Regions from separate parts of the Homo sapiens genome. Here regions 1, 2, 3, 4 and 6 are each linked to region 5. Evidence: promoter capture Hi-C in 16 types of primary human blood cells and fetal thymus (Javierre and others, 2016). All regions are on one chromosome and are shown on one strand. Each heading gives the region's core, a stretch centred on a gene start or on the middle of the fragment in contact. The rest is flanking DNA. Distances are from core to core; before and after follow the strand shown.

Region 1 (3,285 bases), core at 484-2,983, 2.1 Mb before region 5:
TGCAAACTTTATAGGTTATTGTGACAATGACCTACAAGCTGGTTTTATCATGGCCATTTGTAAAGGAGGCAATGGAAGTTCAAAGAGGTGAAGCCACTGGTGTAAAGCCACACAGCAGTGCAGCCAGCTTGGAAGTTGACTGAAGCTGTATTACTGTTATAGATCAAGACCAGTATCCAGATGAGAAACCCCTGCTGGTGATTATATCCATTATTCTCACTCCAAACGACCCCAATTATGGAGGGACCCTCTGAGCTGAACTGGGCGCCAGAAGGTGGTAGGTGGTGGTGGGGGTAGGGGGTGAGGTATGAGTTCCACCCCGACTGATAAAAGAGGGTAAACAGGCCCAGCATCTTCCAAACACGCAGACCTTGTGCTTATGTCAACCCTTGATTAAGAAATAAATGTACTCTGTTTTTTTAAAAAAATCCAAACAACAAATACCTCAAGTTGAGAGAATAACCTAAGACCTTGACTTCATAGTAAAACATAATGTATTTGTTTTCTTTAGAGAAGATTGATTTCTCATCAGAAAATAGAGGAAATAAAATGGGAGAAAATTGGCAAATTATATAAAAGTGGCTTTAAGCTTTTTGCAACTTCAAACTATCCACAATCTGGTGAGATTGCTGCTATAATACATGACTGTTTGGGCCAAAATGGGCATGGCTCACAAATGGAAGCTTGTTTTGCTCCCACGTTGGAGTGTGGACCCCTCAGCTGACATTAACAATGCCAGTGTTTATTGTTATAATCTGCAGACAGGACCACACAAGGTGGCCAGAGGAAAAAGAAATAAAAAACAATAACAGCAACAACAACAATAACAAAAGCCTTATTTTTTCCAAAATGCTTTTAGGAAGCTGTTTCTTATGCCTCAGACTCCTAGAATCTCATGAAGGATGCAATTTCTTTGACATTGACCAACTCCACTTGCCTCTTAGAGGAGATGATGTGAGTAAAGCAACAGAAATTCACATGAAGGTGTAGAACATTGCTTCTGGGTCATCTTCAGATACATATTTGGGCAGAGAAAGGGAGGCCAGATAGTCCTATCTGCATATGAGTTCGGTAAGTGTTGTATTTACTCATTCTTCCTCTAAACAAATATTTTTAAATAAATTTTATTGGGTACATTTGAGGTTTACAGGTTTGCAACATGATGCTGTGGGATATATACAGAGAGTAAAATGGTTTCTAGAGTGAAGTCTGTGAACATATCTCTTATCTCACAGTTAGTTTTTCTGTGACGAGAGCAGCTGCATTGTACTTATTTAACAAAAACCCTAACGTAACATATTGTATTAAGCTCATTAACAAACGTTTTTGAGTGCCAACTCTGGGACAGTCATTGTTTTAGACATTGGGAATATGATGTTAAAATAGCACGCACAGTTCCTGCTCCCAAGGAGCTTATATAATATTATGTGTATGTGTGGGATGGGGCAGGTGTGTGGGGCGAGGGGGAAGGGGACAAGAATGCAAAGAACCAATGAAGGAGAATATAGCTGGTCAGGTAGGTTAAAGTATTATGGGGAAAATAACACAGAAGGTGCATAGCGAGTACCTATTAGTGGCAACTGTTATTTGAAAAGACAATATAAGCATGGGTCTCATGGATAAGCTGATGTTTGAGCTTGAACCTAAAAGAAATGAGCTTGGAGGGCTTGGGTCCTGGGGGAAAGGAATATCCCAGGTTGAGATAGCAGCAAAAGTAAAGGCCCTAATCAAGGAGTGTGCCTGACCTATTTGGGGTAGAGCAATAAGGACAGCATGCACCCAATGCCTTAAATGATGACTGTCCCAGAGTTAGCACCAGGGGAGCTGGTGGTGATGAGGTCAAGAGCTCTGAGTGAGGGTCTGATAGTGATGGCTTGGACCATGCTGTAAGGAGCAGCTGTGATAAATGCAGTTGTGAGTGTTGCCTGCCCACTGTGGGTCCCCCTTCCTGACAGCACATGCCATGTTTGCCCACACTCATTGGCCAGAACTAGCTAATGGCTTCGCTCAAAGACAAGACCTAGAATTATGTTTCTACTGTGTGCCCAAGAAGAGGGAAATCTGAAAATATTTGGCAAGCTGGTGTAATGGCCTCCATATCACAGATGCATACAGAAGTAGTTCTTTATTGTCAGGTATAAACAATCAAAAACATTTGGAGGGCATTATCTAGAGAAATAATGTAGCAATTCCAGCTAGGTAATTTTGCAGTCAGATAATGATATTTGGCATTTCTGCAATGATTGCCGTTAACGTTGAGGCATTTTAAAGTGACCTTTAATCTATTGCCTGAATTGGCAGCAGAGAGGGTGAACTTCTTAAAGCCACTCCAAGATTAAAAATGCATCCCAAGTGATGGATGTGTGTTTCTTCCTTGTTAGGCTACCCATGTATTCACCACTTTATATATTTCTCTGGCATTAAGCAGGCAGAAATGTTCCATTTATTCTTTCCTCTCTTCCCCTTGCCCTACTGTCTTAATGTTCAGGCTCAGAAATAATAAGACAGCTGCCTTTCCTGGCATAGAGAACTAATAGTGACAGATTCTTTACACATGCAAATATATCCTTAGTTATACTTTATAAATATAAGACGCTAGATGATAATGAATTTAATGTTTTAAGTATCATGCCTAATTTAATGACATCAGCTTTTAGTGATTCAGAAATCAACACACTTTCATTCTATTGGGTAAATACTAATCAAGTTGCAATGATATAGGGTAATGAATTAGGTCTCAGGGAAAGAAGAAATTCCCTTTGCTACCTGTGGTTTAAGCTTGTGTCATTCTTGAGGGCAACTTAGAATCCAGCCCACCACAGCATGCCGCTTGTTACTGCTGGGTGAAAATCAAAGTGGTTGAAAACAGTCTTCTTTGGCTCAGAGCTATAGCCCAATATCAGACATGGATAATTGGGTAAACAGCCAGATTTAAATGTGAGCAAATAATAGAATGTAGTTCAGGATTATTTGCCATGCAAAGATTTTCTGTGGAAATTGCACGTTTCTCCTTGGGAGCAGAGTCTGACCCATGAATTTCTCTCTGTGTGTGTACAGATATGCACATGTGCAAACACACGTGCCAATTCAGTAGAATTATCAACATTTTAATCTTCATCTCAATCGCGTGAAACAGGCTTTTTCATTATCTGCATGTTTAGAAGTGGAGGGAACCGGGATTTCGAGAGGCAGATTTTCTGCTTGCCCACATTCACTCAGAGAAGGAATGAGCTGAAATCCTATCAGATCTGTCAGTCACCAAGACATCCTGACGTCTCTGCAAAG
Region 2 (3,186 bases), core at 461-2,960, 2.2 Mb before region 5:
ACTAACAGGCCATCTGATTCTTTCCATCCTCAGAGATGATTGGCATCTTTTATCTGCTGATAGCCCTATGTTGTTGCGAGATCACAACTTTCTGTTCATTTATTCTCATTTCAATGTGATCTAGAGGACAGATGAGATGCAGTGATTAGTCCGTAGTGTTCCTCACGTTCTTTCAAACTGTGAAATGCTGCTGAGAGTTAAGGTATTGATGGCAGTCATTCTTTACACACACCTTCACCGAGGGCCTGTGTGCTGACACTGGGCTGAAAGCTGGCATTGGATGAGGGAGGCCCAGTTCTTGCCATCAGGGATGTCAGCAAGGTTTTCTGCCAAGGAACAGAGTTCTCCTATTTTTTTTTTTTTTTTTTTTGTAAAATTCCTTTCACGAAGGAGGAAGAATTCTATTCCATGATTAAATACCAAGCTTAAACACCGTGAGTAAATACCAAGTATAAACTCTGAGCTCCTGGGGTGGAGTAATCATGCCTTTATGCATTTAGACTCAGTTGGAAAAGCTGCTGGGCTCTTTCCTGAGACAGATAAGAAGCAAGAGCATTTAGAAAAGACCGAGAGAGGGGTCACTGTGGACCTTGGGGGAGACATTTCTCACTTTCCCCAGAACCACCTTGGACTCTGGAAAATGTCCTCTTTGGCCAGTGATGGCTATAAGGTCCCACCCTCTCAGCAGAGGAGAGGAGCTTCAGTTGTGTCCAGTACTTTATGGAGAAGAGTCCAGTCTTCTTTTATACCAATTTTTTAATACTAAATGTGGCTTTGAAGCCACGTAAAACAGGTGCCGCTTGGTGAACACCTCCTGGGCACCAGGCAGGAGTTAGGCTCTGCAGTGCATGTCCACTAATCTCACATGCATTTGCTTTTCTATTAATATTTTTTAAAGCACCTTATTGTCGTAATCCATACACCATAAAATTCACCTCTTTACATGTACGATTAAATGATTTTTACTAAGGGTACAGGGCTGTGCAACCGTCACCACCATCCAGTTCCAGGAAATCTCCATCATCCCCAGAAAATCTTGTATGCCTGTTTGTCTTCCTTGCTCATTTTGCCCCATGAATCTCATTTCTGTCTCTACAGACTTGTCTTCTCTGGGTCTTTTATATAAATGGAATCTTGCAATATGTGGTATTTTGTATCTAGTTTCTTTCACCTAATGTAATATTTTTGAGGTTCACCCATGTTGTAGCATGCATAAGAACTCAATGCTGTTTCTTGCTGTCTATGCTAATGTGTGTAAATATCATATATGCTTATCAGTTCATCAGTTGATGGGCATTATTTTCCTATTTTTTGCCTCTTCTAATTAATACTTCTATAAATATTAGTGTACAAGAAGTTGTGCTGATGTTTTTTATTTTCTCTTGGATAGACAATTAAGAAAAATTTCTTCGTGAGACTAAATTGTGTCTAAATTTGTATCTATTCATTTATTTTTAACTTTTTATTTTGAAATAACTTAGACTGTATTTAGTTACACGAACAGGATAGAGGGGTCCCCTGTACCCTTTAACTGGCTTATCCCAATGATAAGATTTTGTATAACCACAGCACAATTTTCAAGATCAGAAAATTGATATTGATAACTTATAGACTTTTTATAATGTCATAAATTTTTCAGTGCACTGTGTTGTGGCTTTGTTTTGTTGGGTTTTGTTTGGTTTGGTGTAAAGTTCTATTATATTTTTTCTGCATGCACAGTGTCACATAACTGTCACCACAATCAGATATAAATACAGGGAGGCAGCAATTCATAGTCATCCCTTCCACATAACCCTAATGCCTGACAACCCCTCATAGGTCCTCCACACTATAATTTGTCATTTTGAGAATGTTCTAGCAATAAAATAATATCGTAAGTGTATTTTGAATCTTTCCCCATTCAGCATAATGGTCATTGAGATCTATCCAAGTTATTGTGTTTCTCAATACTATTCCATTTATAGATGTCACACAAGTCATCTCTTGGCCACTGAAGGGCATTTGAATTGTTTAGGGTTTTAAGTTCTTGCAAACAAAGTTGCTATGAACAATTGTGTACACACTTCTGTGGACATACCTTTTTATTTATATGGGCTAAGTTAATGGGGTACACATGTTGGGCCATGCGATGAGTTTAACTGTATAAGAAAGTGTCAGATGTTTTGCAGACTAGTTGTATCATTTTGCGTTCACACCAGCAATACCTGAGAGATTCAGTTGCTTCGTATCATCACCAGCACTGGACAATGTGCAATGTGTAATTCTAATAGGTATGTAGGGGTATATCACTGTGGTTTTAACTTGCATTTTCCTAAGAGCTAATGATGTTGAACATTTTTTCATTTGCTTTTTTTTTTTTTTGAGACAGTCTCGCATGTTCCCCCCGGCTGGAATGCAGTAGCGTGATCTTGGCTCACTGCAAGCTCCGCCTCTCAGGTTCACGCCATTCTCCCGCCTCAGCCTCTGGAGTAGCTGGGACTACAGGCGCCTGCTACCACGCCCAGCTAATTTTTTTTTGTATTTTTAGTAGCGACGGGGTTTCACCCTGTTGGCCAGGATGGTCTCGATCTCCTGACCTCGTGATCCCCCCCCCGCCTCGGCCTCCCAAAGTGCTGGGATTACAGGCGTGAGCCACCTCGCCCGGCTTCATTTGCTTTTTTGCTATGTGAATGTATTCTTTGGTGAAATGTTCAAGTCTTTTGCCTATGTTTTAATCAGGCTGTTAGATTGCTTATTATTGAGTTTTGTGAATTGTTTATACATTTTAAATGTTAAAGCCTTAGTTGGATATGCAATTTACAAATATGTTATTTCAGTCTATAGCTTGTATTTTCATTTTCTTTATAGTTTCTTCCGCAGAGCAAAAGATTTTAGTTTTCACAAAGTCTAATTTACTGAATTTTTCTTTTATGGATCATGTATTTGGTGTTATGCCAAAGAAATAAAACCCTTTATTATAACCCCAGGCCGCAATAAATTTTCTCTTAAAAGCTTTATAATTCTTCATATTATTTATAGATCTGTGAACCCTTTTGAGGAAGATTTTGTGCAACGTTTAAGAATTAAGTTGTTTATTGAGGTTTTTATTTTATTTAATTTATGTTTTTGCATGTGGATATCTGCTTGTTCAACTTTATTTATTGAAAAGACTATCTTTTCTCCATCGAATTGCTTTTGCACCTATGC
Region 3 (3,414 bases), core at 599-3,098, 2.9 Mb before region 5:
TACCTTGTAGCATAGATTCACCTGAGAATGTAAATGGCCCGTAAGGATTATAAGCTTTGATCCTGAAATGTATTTGCCAATTGCTTGTTGTGTTTACCAGCTGTCTCTGTTTAATGGGGAGTCCATAAGCATCTCTAAAGCGAATGCACGTGGTAAGCCCATTTCTAGATTTGTTTCTAAGTCCTGAATCTTTACTCCTATCTACTCCTACAGATATTCTGAGCAAGGGCCTTTTTGCTGCATGCCCCAATCCCTGTGAACACTGAGATAGTCTGCACATCCTGAGTAATCCATTTTGAAATGGTCTGGTATATACTAGGTGCTCAATAAAAATAAGGTATTGTTATTATTAATAGTACATTCTTCATTATTTCGCCGAACACATATTAATTAAACACTCACTCTGTTACCAGGCCCTGTGAGCAAAAGGGGAGAGAAGACAATTTACTGAGGCTAAAGTTAACCATCCCAGATTTCATCACCCACATTTCATGGCTTAGGGAAGAATAAGGTAAACTCCCTTCTCCAAATCTTCTTTGATCTTAAGCATATAGCCTTAACATCTGGAACTTACATTTAATAGGTTCAATTGTGGAGTTACACGATGATGGATTCTCATTTTTTCTGTTTGGAATTGGAGACGAAGCAATCATCACCAGGTGATTTACCTTGGCGAGAAAGTTGAAGAATTGACACTACAGTACGCTGCCACCAGGTGGCAGTCAATGCCTTTATCTTAGAGCTCGAACCACTAGCCGACCTCAGCATTACTAGTTCCAGTTTATGAGGAATATCAATAGTGTGAATATGTGATTAGTAATATTATGAATTGTAGGAATGTTATACTGTGGTTTACCATATCATAGACTTTTTAGGCACGTTATCCACGTTTAATCTTCACAGCAGCTTTGCGAAATAGTGTTATTTCCATTTCGTTAACAAAGAAGGGAAGGTTCCTAGGTTGACTGAGCTGCTGGAGGCCACACGAATCTTAGGTTGTGGACTTAAAACCACCAGACCCTCGATCCTGTCCTCATTCTATTCCACTTAGAGTTTTCGGAGTGCTGTTAATTTTCAACATTTTATTTAATATAATTTATTTAAGTAATTGAACTTAATATCAGAAAGCTATATGTTTAAGAGTATATATTATTTTTTTTCCATTTGACACCAGCCTGGGTGACATAGTGAGACCCCCCATCTCTACAAAACAAAGTAATTAAAAATTAGCTGGGCGTAGTAGTGGGGGCCTGTGGTCCTAAGCACTCGGGAGGCTGGGACAGGAGGATCACTTGAGCCTGGGAGGTCGAGGATTCAGTGAGCCATGATTGCACTCCAGCCTGGGTGACGGAGCAAGACTGTGTCTCAAAAAAAAAATCACAGAATAAAGATATACCTTGTAGAGTTCAGTACTTATTATGGGTTGAATTGTACTCCATACAAGATGCTGAAGAATTAACCCTCAGTACATGTCAATGTGACTTTACCTGGAAACAGGGTCTATGCCAGTGTTATGGGCTGAATGTGACCTCCTAAAATTTATATGTTAAAGCTCCTCATTTCTAATGTGATGGTGGTAGGAAGTGGGGCCTTTGGAAGGTGGTCAGGTCATGAGGGCGGAGCCGACATGACGGGTGTTAGTGCCCTAATGAGAAGATATATGAGAGACATGATCTAGCTCTCCACCACGTGAGGACATAGGAAAGAAGGATCTGTCTGCAAATCAGGAAGTCTTAGTAAGTTCTTACCAGGAACTGAATCAGCCAGCACCTTGATCTTGGACTTCCAGCTTCCAGAACTGTGAGAAATGAACATTTGTTGTTTTAGCCACCCGGTCTAGGACATTTATTCTAGCAGCCTGGACTGAGGCAGCAGATGATCAAGTTAAAATAAGGTCACTAGGCTGGGCCCTAATCCAGTATGATTGGCATCTCTACCAAAAGGGAACATTTATTCACAGAGACCGGCATGCACACAGGAAGAGCGCCCTGTGAAACTGGAGTTCTGCTGCCGCAAGCAAAGTGACCACTGGAAGCTGGTAGAGAGGTAGGGAGTATATCCTTCCCTAGCACCTGCCTGCAGAGGGAATGTGGCCCCACGGCCTTGATACTGGATTTCCAGCCGCCAGAATGGTGAGGCAAGGAACTTCTGTGGTTTCAAGACCCCCAGTTTGTGGGGCTTTATTAGGCCAAGTCTATTGATGACTCTATTTGTAAGGGCAAGTCTGTTGATGCCTCTATTTCTAATTTTAGCGGTGCAGCCTTTAGAGACGATGCATTTCACATAATTAGTATACCCAGGAGAAAATTATTCTTTGATTTTATGTTTGTTCCCTGCCAAAGGGACTAAAATATCCCCTTGAGAGATCAGCCATAAAATTTCCACCCTTTCTTGCCTCCTTTCTCTGCCTCCTTGCTCCTTTCTTCCTTCCTTCTCTTCCTCCTTCCTTTCCTTATGTTACAGTCTCGCCAATGCACCTTTTCACCTTCTGCTTTGGCTCCAATGAGAGGAGAGATTTTTTCTCCCTTTTCTTACCTCTGAGTTTGGATATTCCCACACCCCTCCCACCAGCATACATCCAGTCACTCCACACCAGAGCTGTCATTTAAAGATGGTCCCCGCAGATCCGGGAAGAGCAGAGGCTGTTACTTGCATGTTTGGGGCTCTGAGAAGGTGGAGGACGACCCCCCTGCTAGCAGAGAGCTTTGCCTTCAGTCACTCTTCATTTCCATGGATTGCTGGAGAGAACCCTGTTCCCTGTCTCCTATGGTTCCTCTCCACTGATGAGGTCAAGAGCCAAAAAAAGAGGATTAAGCTGTACCTGTGCTGAAAACATATATTAAGAAAACACTTCTGGAGGCTGGGCATGGTGGCTTATGCCTGTAACCCCAGCACTTTGGGAGGCCAAGGCGGGAGGATCACTTGAGGTCAGGAGTTCGAGACCAGCCTGGCCAACATGGCGAAACCCCGTCTCTACTAAAAATACAAAAATTAGCTGGGCATGGTGGCACATGCCTGTAATCCCAGCTACTCGGGAGGCTGAAGTGGTAGGATCACTTGAACCTAGGAGGTGGAGTTTACAGTGAGCCCAGATGGTGCCACTGCACTCCAGCCTGGGTGACAGAGGGAGACATTTTCTAAAAAAAAAAAAACCTTCTGGGAATTTGTTTTCCCGTGAAGAAAAAGGGCACTTTTCCCTGTAATCTCAGAGAAGAATAAACTTTTCTCCTCCCAATCTGTGTCCAGGTGAGTGAGTGTTGGATATGAATCAACATTTGAATATGCCATCTCCACTTCAGACATCATAACAATGCCTACGGTTCTCCATAAACTTTGACAATCTGATTATATTAGTTTCCTGTGCTTCCAAAACAAATGACCACAATCTGAATTGCTGTCTTAGTCTGCACAGGC
Region 4 (3,604 bases), core at 738-3,237, 2.2 Mb before region 5:
AGAGACAGTCCCTGAACACCCTCTCATGCTCTCCTATTGTAGTTTATATTCTGTGGGTGCAAAAGTAATTGCGGTTTTTGCTATTACAGGTAATTGCAAATTACTTTTGCACCAACCTAATATTCTTTTATAGTTTAATTTATATTATTTATATTATATCTTTATTTTAAATTCAAATTTGATGGTCATATTATTATTTTTATTGATATTATTTTAAATTGACAAATCATTGTACACATTTATGGGGTACAATGTGAGGTTTTGATATATGTATACAATGTGAAATGATTAAATCAAGCTGATTAATACATCCATCAACTCATTTACTCATTTTTTTGTGGTCAGGCTTTGACATTTACTCTTATTTTAAATTATACATTACTATTGCCTGTGGAATCTAAAAAAGTCAAACTCATAGAAGTAGAGAGTAGACAATGGCTATCAAATTTAAATTTGTATTTAACTTTTGAAGCTTTATATTTCAAGATAATTGCAGTTCACAGGTGGTTGTAAGAAATAATACAGAGAGATCCTGTGCAAACTTCACCCAGTTTCCCTCAGTGGCCACAACTGCATAACTATAGCACAGCACTTAAACTAGGACATTGAAATGGACACAATCCATGGACCTTATTAGAATTCCCCACTTTTACCTGCACTTGTGCGTGGTGATTATTCTATGCAGTTTATTCTATGCAATTGTACACATGTGTAGACTCATGTAATCACCCTCATACTCAAGATTCAGAACATTTTCTTTCTCCTTTCATAGCTACAACCACTCCTCTCCCTCCCAGCTTCCTCCCTAACCCTTGGCAAACCCTAATTTTTTCTTCATCCCTATGTTTGTGTCATTTTAAGAATGTTATGTAAGAAGAATCAGATAGTATGAAACCTTTTGAGATGGTCTTTTTTTTTTTTTTCCATTCATTGTAATTCCTTTGAGGTCCATCCAGGATGGTACATGCCTCAATAGGGTGTTTCTTTTTGTTTCTTAGCTTCTCTGGTGCAGATTGTTTAAATATTTAGCCGTAAAGAACATTGGTTTGTTTCTAGTCTGGGACTATTACAAATAAGACTACTCTAATCATTCATGTACAGGTCTATAAGGGATCTACTTTCTTTGCATTCTCCCCAGCATTTGGTATTATTATTATTATTAATTTTTTTTTTTTTTTGAGAAACAGTCTAACTCGGTCACCCCAGCTAGAGTGCAGTGGCATGATCACCACTCACTACAGCCTTGAAATCCTAGACTCCAGCGATCCTCCCACCTCAGCCCCACCAAGTAGCTGGAACTATAGGATGTGCTGCCACACTCAGCTTTTTTTTTATTATTATTATTTTGTGGAGATAAGGTCTTGCTATGTTGTCCAGGCTGATCTCAAACACCTGAGCTCAAGTGGTCCTCTCGCCTCAGCCTCTTAAAATGTTGGCATTATAAGTGTGAGCCACTGCAACTGGCATTTTGTTACTTTTTAATTTTAAGCATAAGTGTGTGTTGGTATCTCATTGTGGTTTTAATTTTCTATTTAACTCTCTAAAAATTAAACTGCTCTGTTGGACTTTTATTATAGCAATTATATTTTACTTGGCATGATTTTATTTATTAATACCTATTAAAGGCAAGGGAGACTTGTCTGTTTTGTTTGCCTCTGAATTCCCATTTTCTGGCATTTAGTAGGTACTCAACAAATAAATAGTACCCTGTAGATAAATATGCCAGTGACTGTGCTAGCCCCTGGGGTGACTAAGCTGTTAATAACAGGCTTGGCCTTTAAAATGCTTACTGCATTATGCAGAGTTTCTTAGCGTTGGCATGACTCACATTTTGGGCCAGAACATTATCGTGGGTGTTGGAGAGATGGCTGTGCTGTGTTATGGGATGTTGAGCAGCATCTCTGGCCTCTACTTGCTAGATACCAGAAGCATCACCCAGTTTGTGATAAACAAATTTGTCTCCAAGTATTGTCCAATGTTCCCTGGGGGTTCAGATGGCTCCCAGTTGGGAACTAATGTTTTATTAAGAGAGATAGATGCGTTTTCCATGAAGCCAAGTGTATATAAATATACTTACCAGCTAGGTGTGAGGATATGGCTCAAGACTCAATCAACTAGTCATTTCTTGTCTCCCAGAATGCAAATTACGTCCCCAGAATGTCACAGAGTATCCTGTCAGATCTTTGAGTATACTCGATGAATTAAACAAACACTGATTAGAGGATTCCTACACTTTGCCAGGCACCATGCCAGCCACTACAGATGGTGCAGGGAGCAATACACACATAATCTAGTCCTCAAGGAGTTATTGTCTACTGGGGGAAGTCAGAGATTGATCAAGTTATCTTAAACATGATGCTCATTGGGAGGCCGAGGCAGATGGATCACCTGAGGTCAGGAGTTCGAGACCAGTCTGGCCAAGGTGGTGAAACCCCATCTTTACTAAAAATACAAACATTAGCCAGGCGTGGTGGCAGGCACCTGTAATCTCAGCTACTCAGGAGGCTGAGGCAGGAGAACTGCTTGAACCCGCGAGCCGAGATCATGCCATTGCACTCCAGGCTGGGTGACAGAGCAAGACTCTGTCTCAAAAATAATAATAATAATTATTATTATTATTATATTATAATTATGATGCTTATTTGGGAAGTGAAGTGAAGTCAAGGGTGCTTTGGGGCTGCTTACCAAAGAGGTGGGCTGGACTGGCCTGAGAGCTGTTATTAAGAAAGATGAAGACTACATAAGTAGAGAAGATGGGATAATGACCTAAATCAGAGGGCTTTGAAGATATTAGCATACAAGGTTTAGTTTAAGATTGGTCAGCCCATGGTTTTCATACTGAATTCCATAAGACCATATAATGCAGGAAAATGCACTGGGGGACCCTATTGGAATAAAGGAAGTGCCAAGAAGGCATAGACACAAGTCTCCTTCCCTAAGATTCAACAGAATAGCCATACTTTTATCTTTTTTACAGTGGAGTTGCATTTTGGTGTGGTGGTGTGCATCCTGTGTTCTAATATTGGCTCATAGGGTACAGATAGCTTAGAAGCAAAATGATCCATGAAAACCTATGCAGGAAAACATGGTGCAGAAGACAGACACATTTATCTGTCCAATTCAGCATCAGTAAGTCCACACAGCCAGCTCTTCCTCAAGGTTGAGCACAGTCCTTGGGTTGAATACCAGGTGGAGCTGGTGTAGGCCTGGGCACCATGCTGCCTACACAATAGACACCATTAGTAGGCTACAGAATAGCCTAGGAGCACACTCAGTGTAGAAAGAGGCTCCCATCCTAAGAAGTGCCTGGATGCTGAGCCTGAGTGAGAAAATGACAGGTCCTCATCTTCCAACCCAGGCTCACTGCAGGACGCTTGCATGTTGAAGGAGACTGAGCCTGCTTTCCCCAGATATCCTCATAATTTATACTCCCTTTTTCCTCCTCCTCTCCCTTAATATTGTATGCTGTATGTGTTTTGGGGGGAGGAGAGAAGAAGCTTGGTGGGTTCCATATAAGTGAAAAAGACAAGGGCTATTCTTAATATTTTAATACACAAGGCGCCCCTAATTATGATAAATTGCAGGCTATTGCACTGTCAAAGAA
Region 5 (3,131 bases), core at 219-2,718:
ACATGAAGGCTGCTCGTGACTGTTCCCGGGGTTCATCTGAGCCTTTAGGATTTTCTCCACTGCTTGCATGGGGTGGGGGGAGGGGAGGAATTGTCATTTTAGGATACGCTTTCTATAGAACCAACATGTAGCCACACCAAGGTGGGTAGAAAGCTTTCCAAACTCCAGCGAAGACAGACAATACCTGACTATTTTGCTTTTCCCACTCACTAGGATTGGGCGACAGCTGAGCTGGTTCAGCAGGGAGTCCAGCTCCCCGGTGCCCAGGCAATGGCTCTGGACAGCACCGCGTTCCAGGCTCCCCGGCGCGTCCTGGACTGCTTGGCCGCGGCTACCCTCTCCCGCCCGCCTTGGGGTCAGGGCGCTGGAGTAGACCGCGTTTGCAGGAGGCGCGCAGCGGGCTGCTCTTTGGCCAAGAGGAGGCCATTTGGCGAGGGTGGGTAGCTTGGGGAGGGCAGTGTGAAAGCAGGGGAGGGCCGCGGGGCGTGGGGAGGGGCTGCGGACAAGCCAGACAGCGCCGGCCGAGACATCTCCGGGGCCCGCAGGTGTCCCGGGAACGCACCACTGTGCGACCGCGGGCAGCAAGACACTGGAGAAGGGCTGCGTCGACGCCCCCGCCCAGCAAAACCCCTGGAGGAACTGGGACCTGGGGGGGATTTGGCCCAAGGCAGGGCGGGGAGGGGGCTCGATTCCTGCAGTCGCGTCCCCACCCGCCTCGAGAGGCTGAGTGCCCCGGTCTGTGGCCCCCGTGCGTCCCGAAAGGATCCGCAAGGAAGCTAAGGGTTTGGGGGAGAAGGCAGGCGGGCTCTCCCCAGGCGCTAGGCAAAGGGGAACGCGCCGGGGGCTCCTGGGTTCCCAGGGTCTCCCCAGGTCTGTCCAAGTCCGGGAGATGCGCGCTGCCAGGGACTTGAGAAGGAGGTAGCCGCCCGTTCACCCAACTTTGTGCGCCTCGGCCGGGGTCGGGGATGGGGTCCGGGGACGCGTTACCTGGGCACTGGAGCGCAGTCAGCGCCAGCAGGAGCCCGAGCGGCGGCGCCCGGCCCGGGGGCGGCATGGTCCTCGGCGCGCGGTGGGTGCGGCGCGGGGCTGCTCCTCTCGCGCGCCCGGCCCGGCCCGCGGCTCCCGGAGCAGCCCCCGGCGGCTACGCCCGGGCGCCGGGCATGGCTCGCTCCCAGCGCGCCGCTCCTCCCCAGACGCATGCGCCGGCGCTGGCGGCGCTTCCTCGGCTGCGCCTCTGCGCGCTCTCCTGGGCTCGGCCGTGCGTGGCTGGGGAGCTGGGGCGGCCGAGGCTCAGCGCCCCGCGCCCTGGCCGGCTGCCCCGCAGTTGGCCCGAGTTGCGCGGCCCCCGCCGCCGCCGCCGCCGCGGCTCCTGCGCCCCAGCGCCCGTCCCATCCCGGTCGCGCCGCCGCCGCCGCCGCCGCCTCTGCCATCGCCATCTGCCGGCCGCCCCTCGAGCCAGCGAGAGAGTGAGCGAGCGAGCGAGCGCCGGGGGGAGGAGGAGGAGGAGGAGGAGTAGGAGGAGGAGGAGGAGGAGAGGAGCGGAGGGCGGGGCCGCGGCCGGGGGAGGGGCCGCCCGGGAGCCGGGGCACAGGCGGCAGCCCGGCCAGTAGGCGGCGGGACGCGCCACTGCTCGGCGGTTCGGGGGAGGGCGCCCGGCCGGGAGGCTCCGGGAGCCCGCCGGGGGTCGCGGGCGCTCGCGGGTACAGGGGCTGCGGGAGGGGTGCGCAATGCAGAGAGGGGATGCCCAGCTAGATCCGGCGTCTTGGGGCGCAGCGGTAGGAGTTGCCAAGGTCGAGGGGTGAGGAGGCCAGCGGAGGGTCACCGGGATGGGGCAGCGACCTCTGGAGAGGTGGTGTCTGCCGGGGCCAGAGACTGCAAGACTGAGCGCGGACAGGAGGTCCCGGGTTAAATGTGGCACAGCTAGGGAGTGCCTGTGGGAGAGGGGAGAGGAGAGAGGGGAGGGCCTCCGGGAGGCCGAGGCTGTGTGCAGAGCCTCTGCACGGCACCGGGATGGGGGCTAGGGGTGCGCAGGCTGGGTGCGGTGACCTGAAACACAGCGAAGGCGGCCTGGGGATGGCCACCCGGGTGAGGCAGGGTCCCTTATTTACCCAGGCTAGAGGATGCGCCTTCCCATTTCGCGCAGGCCCTAGGAGCACGCGGAGGCAGCCAGGAGTTCTCCTGGGAAGGGCAGATTCCCTGGCGGTCCCGGGAATGAGTTCCCAGCGCAGGGTCAGGCAGTGACGGAGCGGAGGTGTTGCGCAGGGCCGGGTACTAGGTGGTCGAATTCTTCCATCCAGGGGCAGGGACGCAGCCAGAGTGCGGAGGGAGGTCACAGGTCACACGGAGCCCCAGTACCTATTATCCCAGAAACCACTGATCCTCCTGGGCGCCCCACCCCCAACCAGGGCAAAGCCACGGGGGGCTAAGCCGAATGAATGAGTCATGCTGGGAGCATGTGGGGGAGCCTCCAGCAGCGCTCAGATGCCTTCAAGCTTCCCCACCACGCTGGGAGGACAGGGGATATGGGGGGTTGCCCACCTGGGAGGGTGGCTTGGAGTCCTGGCTCCGCCCCAGCCCCCACCACACCAGCCACTTGCTCTGCCATCTCAGTTTTCCATGAAAAAGTGGGTCAAACTCTTTGAAAATGGTCAATAAGGCAGCGTGGGGTGATGAAAAGACAGATTTGGGGAAGGCTCTGGAGTCATGGAGTCTTGGCTGAGAATCCCAGCTCTGCCGCTCCTTAGCTGTGCAAGCTGGGGCGAGTCCCTTATTCCTCCCTGAGCCTCAGTTTTCTCATCTGAGAGATGGAAGGCATTGCACATCACCTGGTGTCCCCAATAACACATACAAAGCCCCTGACCTAGGAAGTCGGAACTCATTTAAAGGAGTCAGTGTCAACATTATCATTCTCATCATCATGGCCATTATTATGATAGATCTGATTTTCCTCTGCGGGCCCAGAGCTCACATCAGAAGGACAATCCTCCCCACTCCCGGCTGCCAAGAGGGGATGGGGGACAGGGCACCTGCTTGATTAGTACAGACAAGCTCATTAGCAGAGGCAGCACTCAGTTCTTCCTAGATAAAAGAAGGAAGAAAGCCAGGGGCAGGTGGTGAGTCTCCAGCCCAGG
Region 6 (3,345 bases), core at 529-3,028, 2.5 Mb before region 5:
GAGGGAAATCAGTGTGTTGGAATGAATATACTAAGTCCAGATGACTCAGCAGAAAATCGTGTTTCTCGAGAAAGCCCCTAGGAGATACCGAGGCGATGGCTTATGCTGCAATGTGCATGGGAATGTGATGGAGAGACAGCACTGGCGTCTCTAAGAGGGTCGGTGGCAGTTCTGCTTTGCAGGCCAGAGCTGACCATAGGAAGGCTCTTTGATCACCCGGGCAGGATCATCAACATCCATAGGGATGTGGAAGCCCTGAGGTAACACAGGTGGCTGCACTTTAAACCCACAAGCCAGAAGGCTGCAATCAACATAAAACTCTCAGCAAGGGTGCAGGGACATTCGAGGGAGTTTGACCCAAAGGCATTGTGGAGATGGATAGCAGAGAATGGCCTTTCTCAAAACAAAATGGATGGGCCAGCAACCAGGGTGCTACTTAACATCTGTATCTTTAAAAAGGCAGGCCCAGGGTGGTGGCTCATGCCTGTAATTCCAGCACTTTGGGAGGCCGAGGCAGGTGGAACATGAGGTCAGGAGATCGAGACCATCCTGGCCAACATGGTGAAAACCCGTCTCTACTAAAAATACACAAAAATAAGCCGAGCATGGTGGCACATGCCTGTAATCTCAATCGGGAGGCTGAGGCAGGAGAATTGCTTGAACCAGGGAGTCGGAGGTTGCAGTGAGCAGAGATTGCGCCACTGCACTCCAGCCTGGCTACAGAGTGAGACTCTGTCTGAGAAAAAAGAAAAGAAAAGAAAAGAAAAGAAAAGAAAAAACAAAAGGCAAGAAGAAGCAAGCAGGAGTTTGAGGATGTTGCGCCATAAAAAGTTACAATCCCTTACACAATGTCCAGTCTTAAGCCGTTTTTCAAGTCCTGACATCACTGATGGAAGAGCTTGCCACAACCCTAAGAGGAAGACAAAGGACCTTGCAACACCGTGAAAAGCAGATGCTGTGATGGAAAGCAGGACTGAGACATCACGACTGAGACATCATGCTTTGTGTCTCGCCTCTTAGAAGGGCTCCTGTGGGTGCCAGGTAATAAATGGATCCCTGGATGAAGTTTGGCTCACAGTCAGCTCACTGTATGTGTAGACCCAACTAAGTGATGTGTGGGCCAAGGCCCTGGGTCCCCTAAAGGTCTGTTGAGAAATGACTGACATGAGGCAGATTGATTAATAGGAGAAAAGGCATATTTATTTAACATGTATACACGGTGGTCTTCAGAATGAAGGCTTAACCCGCTGGTGAGGTATAGAAGCTTATACACCATCCTGAGGTTACAGAGAGAATGCATGCTCAGAGCACAGCCAAAAACACGTTTTAGTGGCAAGACAGGTCATAGGAGAGAGAAAGGAAGAGTCTTGGCTGGCAAAGGTGGCCTTATCATGTGAATGAAGCCTCTCAGGTAGCATCCCACAGGCAGAATAGATGGCAGCTGCCTCTTTCCAGACTTTTAAAGGTGTCAGACTCTCTCTTAGAATCTCTGTTAGATCCAGGAAAGGCCTGGAAAGGGAGGCCTGGCTGCGTTACTGAAGATTCTCTACAGAGGCAAATTTCCCCCACAAAAGACGGCTTTGCAGGGCCGTTTCTAAATATGTCAAAAAATATATTTTGGCATAAAATGTTTTGATGTACTTCAGTGGTCACTTCTGAAGTCCCCAAGTATCAGTTGAATTTGGTACAATTGGTGTTTGGAGGAACCTCCATATTGGGTCTGTGTCCTGTGTGGTAAGAATTTTTATAGTGAGGAAGTCACAGTGGAAACCTCTGAAACTACCTACCTAGGTAAGATAACAAATTAAAAAAAAAATCTCATGTTGGAGAAGCAGGAGAAAGCAAAAATAAATGGATTCATTAAAGGTCTAAAGGGGGCTGTGGTGGTCCCTTTTATAACTCCACTGAATTCACCAGGGATCAGCAGGAAAGGAGAGGGTCTCCTGTATTGGCAAGAGTGTCTACTGATTAGTGACACCTACCAGGAGGTGACATAGGGCTGCATTTATGCAGGGGCAGGAAGGCGTGGACGTGGAGCTCGTGTGACCTGCATGGATGCCTCCTGATGCTCCCCCACCCCACTGTTACAGTGAGTGGGCAAAGGCAGCAACCCCAGCCTAAAGGTTCTGCTCAGACTGCAGTGAGACACCAAGGCCTGCCCAAGAGATAGCTGAGAGTGACAGGATTCAGAATGGATTGTGCAGGAGGGAGAGGATGCAGTTGCAGCTCTGAGATCAACTACAGTTATTGGGGCTATAATTCCTGCCACAAATGTCCCTCTTCTAAGCTTCCTCTCGTGAAGGAAGGCCCTGTGGGGACTGCAGAGAAGATGCTCCCAAGATGTATGGGAAGCAAAGGGCTGCAAGGTGGAGAGGGTGGGTTGTGGTGTCTGCGAGAGGAGACTCGGATGTCCGAGTGCGACAATGGACCAGTGACCCAGGCTGCTGCCCTCTGGACCTCACCACTAGGTTTGTGCTGAGACCACACCTCCCAGGGGTGACCCCAGCCATGATGCCCCACGGGCTCCCTAAGGCACACTACCCCAAGAGACTGGGCCTTCTTTGACGGAGACTTTGGTTTGGGGCTTCCATGCTGACTTTTCTAAATATTTCAAACTCCACAGCTGTCTGAGACTCTCCTGCCCACCATGCCACCCCTCTTTCCTTCCCAGACAACTGGACCTGCTTTGTGGTTGGATGGCTCTTCCCATCTCCCCTGACTCCCTGCCTATTTTCTCTCAAGAGTGTTTCTCCTAATACAACTCCTGCATGTCTAATCCCAACTTGCTTTCTGTTCTCTAAAGACCTAGACTAACACATCAATGCTGATTTTAAGAAGAAAATACAAATACCATTGAAGCCAGCTGGATACTCTTCCCAAACTTCCCAAACTGTCCCTCTCCACTCAGACGTAACCACTCTCCTAAGTCTAGTTTATCATAATTAGTAGCTCTTTTAATTGGGGATTTGAGGTGGTTCTCAGCATGAGAATTTAAACACACCATCTACAATTCAGGGCAAGAATGTCTATAACCAGGCTAATTTGCATTAAGATTAGAGTCATCAGATCTAATGGGTACCATTATTTCATTAAAAAAATACTTAATCTATTTCATTATATTTTACATTACTTAGTCTAATAAATTCTCTGCCTCCAGCAGTGCTGAAACATTTATCAGACTTCATATATAATTGGTCAATATTAACTCATTTATACATTTATTCTAACTTTGGAAGCAGGCCTAGAAGCTACTTTTTTTCTGCTTTCTTGCAAATAATCCATCATTTATAATTATTGATTTCACATGTGACAAGATACTTAATTCTATCAAATGGCAAGGTTTGC

The links. The method cuts DNA at HindIII sites, captures the fragments that hold promoters and counts their contacts. A CHiCAGO score of 5 or more calls a contact.
Region 1: a fragment that was not itself captured here is called in contact with the fragment with the promoter of TMEM132B in region 5 in 1 of 17 cell types (endothelial precursors); the score reaches 5.5 in endothelial precursors.
Region 2: a fragment that was not itself captured here is called in contact with the fragment with the promoter of TMEM132B in region 5 in 1 of 17 cell types (endothelial precursors); the score reaches 9.2 in endothelial precursors.
Region 3: a contact is called between a fragment that was not itself captured here and the fragment with the promoter of TMEM132B in region 5, in 3 of 17 cell types (endothelial precursors, non-activated CD4 T cells and total CD4 T cells). The highest score is 10.4, in endothelial precursors.
Region 4: a fragment that was not itself captured here is called in contact with the fragment with the promoter of TMEM132B in region 5 in 1 of 17 cell types (endothelial precursors); the score reaches 7.2 in endothelial precursors.
Region 6: a contact is called between a fragment that was not itself captured here and the fragment with the promoter of TMEM132B in region 5, in 1 of 17 cell types (endothelial precursors). The highest score is 6.1, in endothelial precursors.

The regions. Positions count from the first base shown.
Region 1 is chr12:127,301,296-127,304,580 of GRCh38, reverse strand. It overlaps LOC124903050 (a long non-coding RNA gene), which reads left to right and starts at 791. Exons shown (of 3, transcript XR_007063523.1): 1 at 791-1,071. The HindIII fragment of the contact is 2,095 bases long and covers 686-2,780 here.
Region 2 is chr12:127,376,060-127,379,245 of GRCh38, reverse strand. No RefSeq gene overlaps it. Among named protein-coding and RNA genes, the nearest start is that of LINC02375, 38 kb to the right of the region's middle. The HindIII fragment of the contact is 2,567 bases long and covers 427-2,993 here.
Region 3 is chr12:128,066,909-128,070,322 of GRCh38, reverse strand. No RefSeq gene overlaps it. Among named protein-coding and RNA genes, the nearest start is that of LINC02441, 41 kb to the right of the region's middle. The HindIII fragment of the contact is 3,583 bases long and covers 57-3,414 here.
Region 4 is chr12:127,392,305-127,395,908 of GRCh38, reverse strand. No RefSeq gene overlaps it. Among named protein-coding and RNA genes, the nearest start is that of LINC02375, 54 kb to the right of the region's middle. The HindIII fragment of the contact is 3,025 bases long and covers 475-3,499 here.
Region 5 is chr12:125,184,723-125,187,853 of GRCh38, reverse strand. TMEM132B (transmembrane protein 132B) reads right to left here and starts at 1,468. Exons shown (of 9, transcript NM_001366854.1): 1 at 988-1,468. The coding sequence starts at 1,054. RefSeq lists a silencer at 1,476-1,685 and an enhancer at 1,734-2,267. The HindIII fragment of the contact is 2,339 bases long and covers 156-2,494 here.
Region 6 is chr12:127,678,255-127,681,599 of GRCh38, reverse strand. No RefSeq gene overlaps it. Among named protein-coding and RNA genes, the nearest start is that of LINC02411, 43 kb to the right of the region's middle. The HindIII fragment of the contact is 1,023 bases long and covers 1,267-2,289 here.